4 separate regions of the Homo sapiens genome follow, and regions 1, 2 and 3 are each linked to region 4. The links are contacts of gene promoters, found by promoter capture Hi-C in human tissues and cell types (Jung and others, 2019). All regions are on one chromosome and are shown on one strand. Each heading gives the region's core, a stretch centred on a gene start or on the middle of the fragment in contact. The rest is flanking DNA. Distances are from core to core; before and after follow the strand shown.

Region 1 (2,700 bases), core at 114-2,613, 170 kb after region 4:
AGCTGGGGCCTCCTGCTGGGTTGAAGAAGGTTCTGCCTCTTCAGTGAGCTGTGGAAGCTGCTCTGGGGCTTCTTCCTGGAATGAAGAGGACTAGATCTCTTCAAGGGTCTCTGGATTTTGAGTTTCAGGCTCTACATGGAATTGAGAAAGTCCAACTCTCTCAGGGGGCCCTGGAGGCTCATCTGAGTTCATCTGGAGTTCTGGAGGCAGGCTGCTGCGATACACTGTATCCATACTTGAATCTAAATACTCATCCTGCAAAGTTTGTTTCTGACACTGAGGTTTTGATACAAATAGGTGTGGAGTTCCACACAACAACCTTAGCAAGCTTCAGATACTTAGCTAGATCTTTGTTCAGGTTCTTGGGCGAAACAGTAAACTTGGTTGCTTTTGAATTCTATCTTATTTATTTTATTTTGTTTTTTAATTTATTTTATATTTATTTATTTATTTTTTTTTTTTTGAGATGGAATCTCGCTTTGTCACCCAGGCTGGAGTGCAGTGGCACGATCTCGGCTCACTGCAACCTCCACCTCCCGGGTTCAAGCGATTCTCCTGCCTCAGCCTCCCGAGTAACTGCAGGCGCGTGCCACCAAGTCCTGCTAATTTTTTGTATTTTTAGTAGAGACGGAGTTTCACCGTGTTATCCAGGATGGTCTCTTATCTCCTGACCTCGTGATCCGCCCGCCTCAGCCTCCCAAAGTACTGGGATTATGTGAGCCACCGCGCCCGGCCTGAATTCTGACTATCTAGAGGTGGAACAAGTAAAGTATTTAATTTGCCTGATGATCTGCAGCCTGATCTAGATCTGCAGTATGAACCTTACTTTTGAGGCGAGGAGGCCGAGCAAAGGTCTGTTTCTGATCCCAGTCCAGCACTGAGACCCCCTCTGGGAGCCTTTCTTGCCAAGTCAGCTTGTCATTCAGGTCCTGGTGTGCAGCCGCTAACTGCTCTGGCCCCGGGGCCAGCTCTCCAGCTGAATCTGTGTCCAGGAATGGAACCAAAGTCTCGGTCAAAGTCTCAGTCGATTCCTGAGGCGGAGCTGACATCTGGGAGGAAGCAGAGGACCCCAGGTAATCAAAGTCCCCGGGGTCTGCCGGTGGGGGCGGGGGTCGGGGGTAAGCGCAAAGGGAGATTCGGGTGGGAGACTGGGGGAGCAGGAAAACCAGGGCTCAGTCGGCCCCAGAGGGTCGGAAGTCGGCTGGAGCCGGTCCTGGACCCACTCCAGAGGCTGAGCCTCCTGGACTAGTAGCCACAGTAGTTGCCAACCTGAGGAGGTGCCGTGGGACCCAGAGGCGCAGCTGGGACATGACAGGCGCTGGCGCCGCGCCCTGAGCCGGAGCCATTCTGGCAGCCCCGAGACGCTTGCGCCCCTGACAACCGCGCGCCCCGCCCCGTCCTTTATGACACCTGTATTTACACCGCCTTTATTAGGCTCGGGTCCAGATCCGCTCCGCGATCTTATCCCACAATCCCATCCAAACCCCACTTCCTGTCCCACCCCACCTCCGAACACCCCTCCCCTCCCCTTAGCGAGGAAAGATTTGGGATCCTGTTTGAAGGGAATTCTAAAAGGTCTGTGTTCAAGCAGCCCAGCACCCTTTACTCCTGGGTGGTGGGGGGAGACTAACCCCTTTCCTGTGTCCACAACTGTAGTAATACTCTAACCGTCCTCAGTTCTGCTCTCCAAACTTCAAATAAGGGGTCAGAGACATGGGTCAAGACTTCAGGAAAAGCCCCAGAAATACCCTGCACTCAAAAGCAGTTTCAGAGTTTCACATTTTCCTGAGAATGAAACAAATTATCCTCCAAATTCTGCTGCTTGTTTTGAATTATGTTTACGCTGGTTATGTTACCAGTGAGTTTTTATCTCCACATACTTGAATTAAACCGTGTAGTTCTTCTTTACATCTGACACCTACAATCTCTTCACTGGGTCTGTACTTCACAGCTATTTTACCACTTTCTGAAATAAAGTTAGCAAGGATCAATTCAGAATCTTTTTCGTTCTAAAACTTCCTGCACAGGCCGGGCGCGGTGGCTCATGCCTATAATCCCAGCACTTTGGGTGGCCGAGGCAGGCAGATCACCTGAGGTCGGGAGTTCGAGACTAGCCTGACCAACATGGAGAAACCCCGTCTCTACTAAAAATGCAAAAAATTAGCCGGGTGTGGTGGTGTGTGCCTGTAATTCCAGCTACTGGGGAGGCTGAGGTAGGAGAATCGCTTGATCCTGGGAGGCTGAGGTTGCAGTGAGCCGAGATCGCACCATTGCACTCCAGCCTGGGCAACAAGAGTGAAACTCCATCTAAAAAAAAAAAATCCTGCGTATAATGGTAGTACCCCATGATGAGACATTCTTTTTTTTTTTTTTTTTTGAGACAGAGTCTCGCTCTGTCACCCAAGGCTGGAGTGCAGTGGCGCGGGCTAGGCTCACTGCAACCTTCTAATGTGAAGTGTCTACTAGCCCAGTGGTCTCTATTCCATCTTTGAACTTACTTTGATTCCCACCTGATGCCTTACCATTTCATCTTTTGGTTTCTAAAAGCAGAAAATAAGAGCATTTTTCTGAAAGTTTCCTCATCTCCTCATCTCACACTTGTTTTCCTTCCTTCCTTCCTTCCTTCCTTCCTTCCTTCCTTCCTTCCTTCCCTTCCTTCCTTCCTTCTTTTTATAGGGGCTCACTCTGTTACCCAGGCTA
Region 2 (2,700 bases), core at 165-2,664, 170 kb before region 4:
GGTGAAACCCTGTCTCTACCAAAAATATAAAAATTAGCTGGGTGTGGTGGTGGGCGCCTGTAATCCCAGCTACTTGGGAGGCTGAGGCAGGAGAATCACTTGAATCTGGGAGTTGGAGGTTGCAGTGAGCCGAGATTGCGCCACTGCACTCCAGCCTAGGCAACAGAGTGAGACTCTATCTCCAAAAAAAAAAAAAAGAAAAGAAAAAGATAAACCAGGAGGTCCAATGTTTGACTAATAGGAATTCTACAATGAGAGGACAGAGAAACCAGAAAAACTTCCAAAATATTTACCAGATTGAAAAATATAAACTTCTAGATTGAAAGGACTGATAGGCTGGGCGCGGTGGCTTATGCCTACAATCCCAGCACTTTTGGAGGCTGAGGCAGGCAGATCTTGAGGTCAGGAGATCGAGACCATCCTGGCTAACACGCCGAAACCCCGTCTCTACTAAAAAATACAAAAAATTAGCTGGGCGTGGTGGTGGGTGCCTGTAGTCCCAGCTACTTGGGAGGCTGAGGCAGCAGAATAGCGTGAACCCAGGGGCAGAGCTTGCAGTGAGTCGAGATTGTGCCACTGCACTCCAGCCTGGCTGACAGAGCGAGGCTCCATCTCAGGAAAAAAAAAAAAAAAAGGACTGATAGAATAATAACCTCAGACCAAGAGGCTTGATGATGAAATTTTGGTAAACTGAGGATAAAGAGAATATACTAAAAGCTTCCAAAAGTAACTAGAGGTTACATTCAAAGGACCCCAAATTAGAATGGCATTATATATCACAGCAGAAACTTACGAGGTCAGAAATGCATCAAGCAGTGTCTTCAGATATCTTCAGTGGAAAGGATTTTCATCTTATAATTTTATTGCAAGCCAAATTATCAATCAGATGTGAGTCTAAGGTAAATACATATTTTAGACATGCAAGAGACTTAAAAACCTGAGTTCCCATGAGCTGTTTTTTCATAAATTACTGTGAGATGTTCCCTTAAAAAGCAAGTGAGACAATATGGGGTACTGGAAACAATGCAATAAAAGAGAAGAGCTACTGGAGAGCCCAAGATGACAGTTGTGTAGCCAGTCTAGGGAATTTCTTAGAGTGTAGGAAAAGAAAGTGTTCTGGGAATGTTTAGCACCAGAGAAAAACAGTATCTGATGCATTTGAGCATATGGAAAATATTCAGATGTGACAGATTTTGGAGCAGTTGAGGGAAAAGAGTCTAGAAAGTAGAAAAAAATATGATAGCCTATATGTAGGGTGAGAAAGAGTCCATAGTCCTATTGTCTGCTTGTCCTGACACTGAGTAGTATCTAAATACTAAATATTCACACGGACGCTTAATTTAAACAAAGATTGTGAGAAAATTACACTGAATACAGCCAGAAGCAGTGGCATGTACTGTAATTTCAGCTACCTTAGAGACTGAGGCTGGAGGATTGCTTGAGGGTGTACTATGATCGCTCCTGTGAATAGCCAGTCTACTTCAGACATAGCGAGACCCCATCTCTAAAAAAAAAAAAATTTTTTTAAATTCCGTTGTTGTCTTTTAGTATCCACCTCTTAGTTCTTTCCTGTGTTACAGATGAAGTGAAACTAAGGGAAATGGAGGAAGGAGGAGGAGAGGTGGACATGAAATAATATTGTCACTTTGAATTTTAGTTTCTTTCCTTTCACTTCATAACTTCAAAAGAAGTTTTCAGTAGGGCATGGAACATTTCCAGGATTAAGCAGCACCAGTTCAACATGAGATTCAGTCATATTCAGTTCTTCAGAGTTCATGGAATCCTCCAGGTCCTAGACTGTTGCTGAGGATGGTTAATGTCAAATAAATTAAAAATACTGAAAAGAAAAAAATAAAAGTGTGTAGATGCTCTATTTTTGGACTGAGAGCAGTGAATTGGTAGTGGACATAGGTTTGGGTTAAGTAAATGAAACAGAAGTCAGCATAAAAGAAAGCTCAGAATATTGAGTCAGATGTTAGAAGGTGTCCAAAGCAGAAAGTTTGACCTATTAAGTAATGTGTCTGTTAGCTAAATGTATTCCTTCCGTAATGTTTTTATCTAGTGATTTCTTTCTTAGGAGAAGTTTAGTCATGAGACGGCAATGCACTGGCAGTAGTTAGCTTCTAAAAAGCAATTTTATTTCTGCTAGGGACAAGATGTTGGGCGGAGGAATTATAAACTTACTTTGTTTTAGGTTTATCTGGCCAAACAAAAATGTTTTTCCTTTTAGATTCGGGCAAGAAAACTGGCCAACTGGAAAAAACATCTGGTGTTGGTTGAATGAAGGAATGGCATAATCAGTAAAAATTACTTATAGGAAAAATACACATTTAAAAAATCTTCTGCAGCTTCAACTCTGGATTTTTTTTAATGAAAATTGATTCTTAATCTCTCATTAACATTTTCCTACCACCAAAAGATTTGACCTGTATTGGGCTACCTTTGTATGTTAGAAATTTTGCTTAATCTATGAAATTTCTTTTTTTAAATTTCTTAATCTATGAAATTTAGATCGTGAGTCATAAACTTCTTCAATAGAGAACCTGTTTTTGTAGTATTTGCTATTTAACAACCACCCTGTAACTTTGTGGCTTAAAACAATTCATTATGCAGCCTGACGGTCCTGCCATCTCCCCAATAGGTCGCTCATAAGACTGCAGTCATTTGGTGACTTGAGTGGGGCTTACGTGTCTAAGATGG
Region 3 (2,700 bases), core at 86-2,585, 190 kb after region 4:
AAACAGGAATGCATGTTCTCACTTTGCACTGCAGTTCCAGGCTTGAGGACGGGGCCCTCACCAGGGACCTGCCCTCTTCTGCCCAGAATTTCCCTGCCTCCTATCCTATCAGAGATAATTAATGGGTACAAAAAAATAGTTAAAGAATGAATAAGATCTTTATTTGATAGCACAACAGGATGACTTATAGTCAATAATAATTTAACTGTACATTTTAAAATAATTAAAGAAGGCTGGGCATGGTGGCTCACGCCTGTAATCCCAGCACTTTGGGAGGCCAAGGCAGGAGGATTGCTTGAACGTGGGAGTTCAAGACCAGCCTGGGCGTCATGGTGAAACCTCAACTGTACAAAAAATACAAAAATTAGCCAGACATGGTGACAGGCGCCTGTGGTCCTAGATACTCTGGAGGCTGAGGTAAGAGGATTGCTTGAGCAAGGTCAAGGCTGCAGAGATCTGTGATCACATCGCTGCCCTCTAGCCTGGGTGACAGAGAAAGATCCTGTCTCAAAAAAAAAAAAATAAAATAACTAAAAGAGTGTATCTGGGTTATTTGTAACACAAAGAATAAATGCTTGAGGTGATGGATACCCCACTTACCCTAATGTGATTATTACACATTATATACCTGTATCAAAATATCTCATGTACCCGATATATACACCTACTGTATATATGTACCCAGAAAATTACCCACAAAATTTAAAAATGTACCCACAAAAATTAAAAATTAAAAAAGATACATTAAAACTGTACATATTAGGATAGAAAGTGTCCATAATAATTTTTTTTTTTTTGAGATGGAGTCTCACTCTTTCGCCCAGGCTGGAGTGCAGTGGCGCTATCTCGGCTTACTGCAAACTCCGCCTCCCAGGTTCATGCCATTCTCCTGCCTCAGCCTCCCAAGTAGCTGGGACTACAGACGCCCGCCACCACGCCCAGCTAATTTTTTTGTATTTTTAGTAGAGACAGGGTTTCACCGTGTTAACCAGGATGGTCTCGGTCTCCTGACCTTGTGATCCACCTGCCTTGGCCTCCCAAAGTGCTGGTATTACAGGTGCGAGCCACTGCACCTGGCCAATAAATTTTTTTTTTATAATTATCACCCATTATCAGAAAAATAAAATATACCTATATAATTTCATAAAGAAATTAAGTGTCTTGCCCAAGGCCATCTAGCCAGCTAGCTGTACAGCCAGGACTTGAACCCTGGGCCTATGGTGACTCCAAGTTCACCCTTTACACCATGAGAACCAATAAAGGTAAAGAGACTTTGGAGGACATAAGAGGCAAACTCTCATTCATGTCAGGTCTTCTTTTTGCAATATCCTTGGAAGGTGGCCAGCCAGCATCTGCTTGAATACTTCCAACAACAGGGAGCTCATTACCTTCCTGGCAGCATGCTCCACTGTTGGCAGCTGGTTATTAGAATTTTCCTCCATCAAATGAGGAGAAATCTGTGCATCCTAATATCTGATCTTGAGTTCTGGATCCTCACAGAGGAGGTGACCCCCTTCAGCCAGACCAAAACTGGGCTGGCTTGCACTGGTCCCTAAGGAGAGACTTCAGGAGTGGGTCCAGTGGGTTCCACACTGCTTCATGGGGAAGGGAACACGAATCCATCCTATATCTCACTCCTCGCACCTCCACTGACCAGCACTTCCTGCAGACTTGCCCAGGTAAAGCTTGTCTGCTGTATGTGCACTGCTTCCATGATGGGGCTTTGGGGCCTCAGCTGCAGAAATGCCTGAATTTCCATTCATGGTAGGGCCTCCCACCCTTGAAAGAATAATTATCTGCCTGCTGAGCTGATAGGTTCCCATCTGGTGAGGGCTGAATGCCGTAGTTTTAGAAAAGACACCAGAAAAGGCAAGCTCCTGAACTGGCTTTGACAGATTCCCCCAGCTACTCTAAGGGAAAAAAAAAAAATGACTGAGGTGGGTGTCGGGTAGAGGGTTGGGGAGAAGGCCTAGAAAGGAAAAGAAAATGAATATGGGATGCTAATGAATTCCTGTGATCTCACTGTCTCCTATTCCAGCACATGCTCCTCTGCAGAAAGTGATGGGGCTGCCTTGCCAGCTGGAGCCTGAAACTGTGCCCAGGTAGACAGAACTGCGAGTCCCAGGACAGCCTGGGAAGTGTTGGCTGCCTGGTAATGGAAGAATGTCCAGGATGGAAAACAAGAGGCTGGATCTGCAAATGACATTGTATTTCAGGGGTCTGCTTTCCTGGTCTGCCCCTCCCCACCTCTGTAGCTCCCTCACAGTGACAGCAGAGCTGTGAACCCAGGAACAAACCCCACCATTGCCCCTGTCCTCTCTCATCTCTACTTTCCACATTGAAAAATAATAAAAGAGGCCAGGCATGGTGGCTCAAAACAGCTATAATACCAGCACTAGGATGCCAAGATGAGAGAATGGCTTGAGGCCAGGAGTTCAAGACCTGCCTGAGCAACATAGAGAGACCCACCCCCCAGTCTCTGCAAAAGCTAAAAATTAGCTGAGCATGGTGGGATGCACTTGAAGTCCCAGCTACTTGGAGGCTAAGTCAGGAGGATCACTTGAGCCCAGAAGGTTGAGGCTGTAATGAACCATGATTGTGCCACTGCATTCCAGCCTGGGTGACAGAGTGATATCCTGTCTCTAAAAAATAAATAAGGTAATAATAATAAAATAAATGCCCTCCAGGAGTTTCAGTAAA
Region 4 (2,700 bases), core at 88-2,587:
ACCCTGCTCAGGGTTGGAACTCTCCTGGAACGTTTCTAATGGGCTTCATCTTCACTCACTGCTCCGCCTTCCCCAAGGTGTTGTGATCAGAGGAATGACAGACTGACCATTCACTTGCTATTAGAGTTGGGTGAGGAGGAGGAGTCCCATAGTCTCCTGTCCTGCGGAACACAGCAAGGTGGTGGCCTTATTGTAAGGTCACTTGACCTGGAGAGGGTCTTCTCCATCTCTCCTTTCTGTGGAGCAGGAGAAGGGGTGGAGTAGGAAGGGAATGGGTCCTCCTGTCATGAGTGACCCCTTCATTGAAACTTACAGCTTCTCCAAACACCCCAGCAATTCATTTAATTCTCCCTCATCCTCCCAATAATACCAGGTGACACAGACTCCACAGTACCAGCAACCCCATTTTATAGGAGAGGAGGAAACTGATGCTCAGAGAGGTGATTTGTCCGGGGCTATACAACCAGAAACAGCCTGAGCCAAATTGGCGCCAGAGTCTATTGCCCAGAATCTCCTATTCCTCTTCTCTCCACCAGTCATGGTGGGTGGCATCCAGATCTTGGATGTTTCTCCCTAAATCAGGGGTAAAGGTGGCGCAATTCTAGGTCAAAGGTCATGAGATCTGATTTTACCAGCTTCTCCTCTCTCAGCTCCATATTTCTTCCTCTTTTCTCATCCAAGAGCAGGGACCTCACCCAGCCCCATTCCTGGCCTTTTGGAAGAACAGGGGTTGGGGGGGCGGTGTATCCTAGTGACTGATTAGGGCAGAACTCCTGGACCCCTGGGATTTATTTTGCTGTCTCTATTGGACACCCTCCCCATCTCAGCCTCAGCCTCCCACCGGCAGCCCCAGAGCCATGTTGGAGGGAGAGGCTTTTCTGTTTGGTTTGAGGCAGCCTGGGCCCCACACTGGGGAGAAAGGAGTTAAAGCCAGGTCCCAGGATCACCGGGACCGGGAAGTTCCGGTGGTCCAAACAGGAGTGGGTTGGGGGGACCCGCAGGAAGAGAGGTTTGGGACAAAAGGGGGGTGGTGCCAGCCATGCCAATCCCCATCAGCGCTCGGCATCCACTGGTAGACCGCCCCCCCACCCCTCCCCCAAGTTCCACGCCTAGTTTCTGCCTTCCCGCCCCAGCGGGCCGCCTGCACCCCACGGCCAGTCAGAGGCCCACCTGCGGCCACCTAGAGCCGAGAGGGGCTTGCCTCCCTGCTGCCGCACGCCCATTGTGTGCGCCGAGCCGGCGGAGGGGCTGCGAGGGGCGGGGCCGGGCGGGCGGAGGGAGGGAGCGAGGGAGGGGCGCGGGGAGATGCTGAGCCTACGGGGGAGGCGGCGGCGGCAGTGGAGAGAGCGGGAGGAGCGAGGGAAGGCAGGAAGGAGGCAGCCGAAGGCCGAGCTGGGTGGCTGGACCGGGTGCTGGCTGCGCCGCGCTGCTTTCGGCTCCCACGGCCTCTCCCATGCGCTGAGGGAGCCCGGCTGGGCCGGGCCGGCGGCGGGAGGGGAGGCTCCTCTCCATGGTCCAGAAGACCAGCATGTCCCGGGGCCCTTACCCACCCTCCCAGGAGATCCCCATGGAGGTCTTCGACCCCAGCCCGCAGGTGAGGCGTGGTGGCCCGGCCCAACGGGAGGGGGTCGCTCCCGCGGACCGTGTTAAGGTCGGCTCGAGAGGCGCGGGAGAGGAAGGGGTTATATGCCGGGCGCGGAGGAGAGAGGGATGCCTGCGCGCCCCCCATCCTTGCAGGTTGTGATTGATGGGCGCTGGGCCTGGGGCTGGGTGGCGATGCTGCGGAGCGGGGAGGGGGCGGGTGGGCTGCCTGTCACCCTCGCCTCCTTATCTCCCCCGCGTCAAGGTTCCTGCCGCTTGGGCACCAGCTTCAGTGGGCTGAGCGTGGGGGTGCTGGTGGAGGGGGATCTGGGCCTTGAGAAGGGGAGGTTGAAAGAGGCTAGAAAGCGAGCCAGGCAAGGGGGGCGACGCAGAGCACGCTCGGGGGCGCCAGGCGGGTGTGGGTGGGGCGGGGGTGGCACGAGGAGGTGGCCGAGGCGATGGTCAGAGGGCGGTGCCAAATGCCAACAGGCCTTCAAAGCCGCAGACACTGGTTCTCGAGGGTGGGGAAAGAGCCAACCCCGGTCGAGGTCCCCTCCCAGCCACCTGGGCTCCATCTCTATGTCGGACCTGCTCCCCTCCCCCCACACCCACGTTGACTTACCCCACCCCCACCCCCGCCCCAAAAACGCCTCCAAAGTTTGGAAAGTTGGATGGATGCCAACTCATAGGAGGGGGGGAAGCTGTTTTACCTGGGGGAGGGGTCTACTTCTCCATCCCCACCCGCACACTTTTCCTACACCCCTGGTTACTCCCAGGAAGTGGCATTCTTGGGCGCGGTGGGTTCTCATGGGGTGACCAGCAGGCTCTGGGATGGTCGCGCCAGGGGATTTCTTTGGGAGTGTCCTTCTCCAAGGATAGCATTAACTCTTCTGTTACTGTGGCCACCAGCTGTAACCACCATGATAATGTGACTGATGGGTATGTAGAGGGGTCAAGTCAGACCTAAAAATACCTTCCTCCACCCCAGGCCCCTTTGAGCCTGGGAGGCAGCTGACTGGGGCCTTCCTTTCAGCTGTCCCCTGTCCCTCTGAGTGCCACTCCCTTTGCCCAGCCTGGCAGTGGTGGGGGAGGGTGGTGTCTGGGATTCACTGGGTGATC

What was found. The method cuts DNA at HindIII sites, captures the fragments that hold promoters and counts their contacts. A contact is called where the count stands out against the background at its distance.
Region 1: a contact is called between a fragment that was not itself captured here and the fragment with the promoter of CACNB1 in region 4, in 1 of the 25 tissues and cell types used here (aorta).
Region 2: a fragment that was not itself captured here is called in contact with the fragment with the promoter of CACNB1 in region 4 in 4 of the 25 tissues and cell types used here (adrenal gland, mesendoderm cells, spleen and 1 more).
Region 3: a fragment that was not itself captured here is called in contact with the fragment with the promoter of CACNB1 in region 4 in 1 of the 25 tissues and cell types used here (dorsolateral prefrontal cortex).

Annotation. Positions count from the first base shown.
Region 1 is chr17:39,025,923-39,028,622 of GRCh38, reverse strand. LINC02079 (long intergenic non-protein coding RNA 2079) reads left to right here and starts at 1,513. Exons shown (of 2, transcript NR_135645.1): 1 at 1,513-1,575; 2 at 1,678-1,908. It overlaps LOC105371767 (a long non-coding RNA gene), which reads left to right and starts at 926. Exons shown (of 3, transcript NR_188621.1): 1 at 926-1,073. The HindIII fragment of the contact is 3,115 bases long and covers 1-2,700 here.
Region 2 is chr17:39,364,817-39,367,516 of GRCh38, reverse strand. The region is part of intron 1 of FBXL20 (F-box and leucine rich repeat protein 20); the gene reads left to right. Among named protein-coding and RNA genes, the nearest start is that of FBXL20, 35 kb to the left of the region's middle. The HindIII fragment of the contact is 6,030 bases long and covers 1-2,700 here.
Region 3 is chr17:39,009,041-39,011,740 of GRCh38, reverse strand. LOC105371767 (a long non-coding RNA gene) reads left to right here. Exons shown (of 3, transcript NR_188621.1): 3 at 2,039-2,695. Among named protein-coding and RNA genes, the nearest start is that of LINC02079, 17 kb to the left of the region's middle. The HindIII fragment of the contact is 4,299 bases long and covers 1-2,700 here.
Region 4 is chr17:39,196,306-39,199,005 of GRCh38, reverse strand. CACNB1 (calcium voltage-gated channel auxiliary subunit beta 1) reads left to right here and starts at 1,337. Exons shown (of 14, transcript NM_000723.5): 1 at 1,337-1,594. The coding sequence starts at 1,511. RefSeq lists silencers at 1,040-1,169, 1,180-1,579, 2,010-2,139. The HindIII fragment of the contact is 14,403 bases long and covers 1-2,700 here.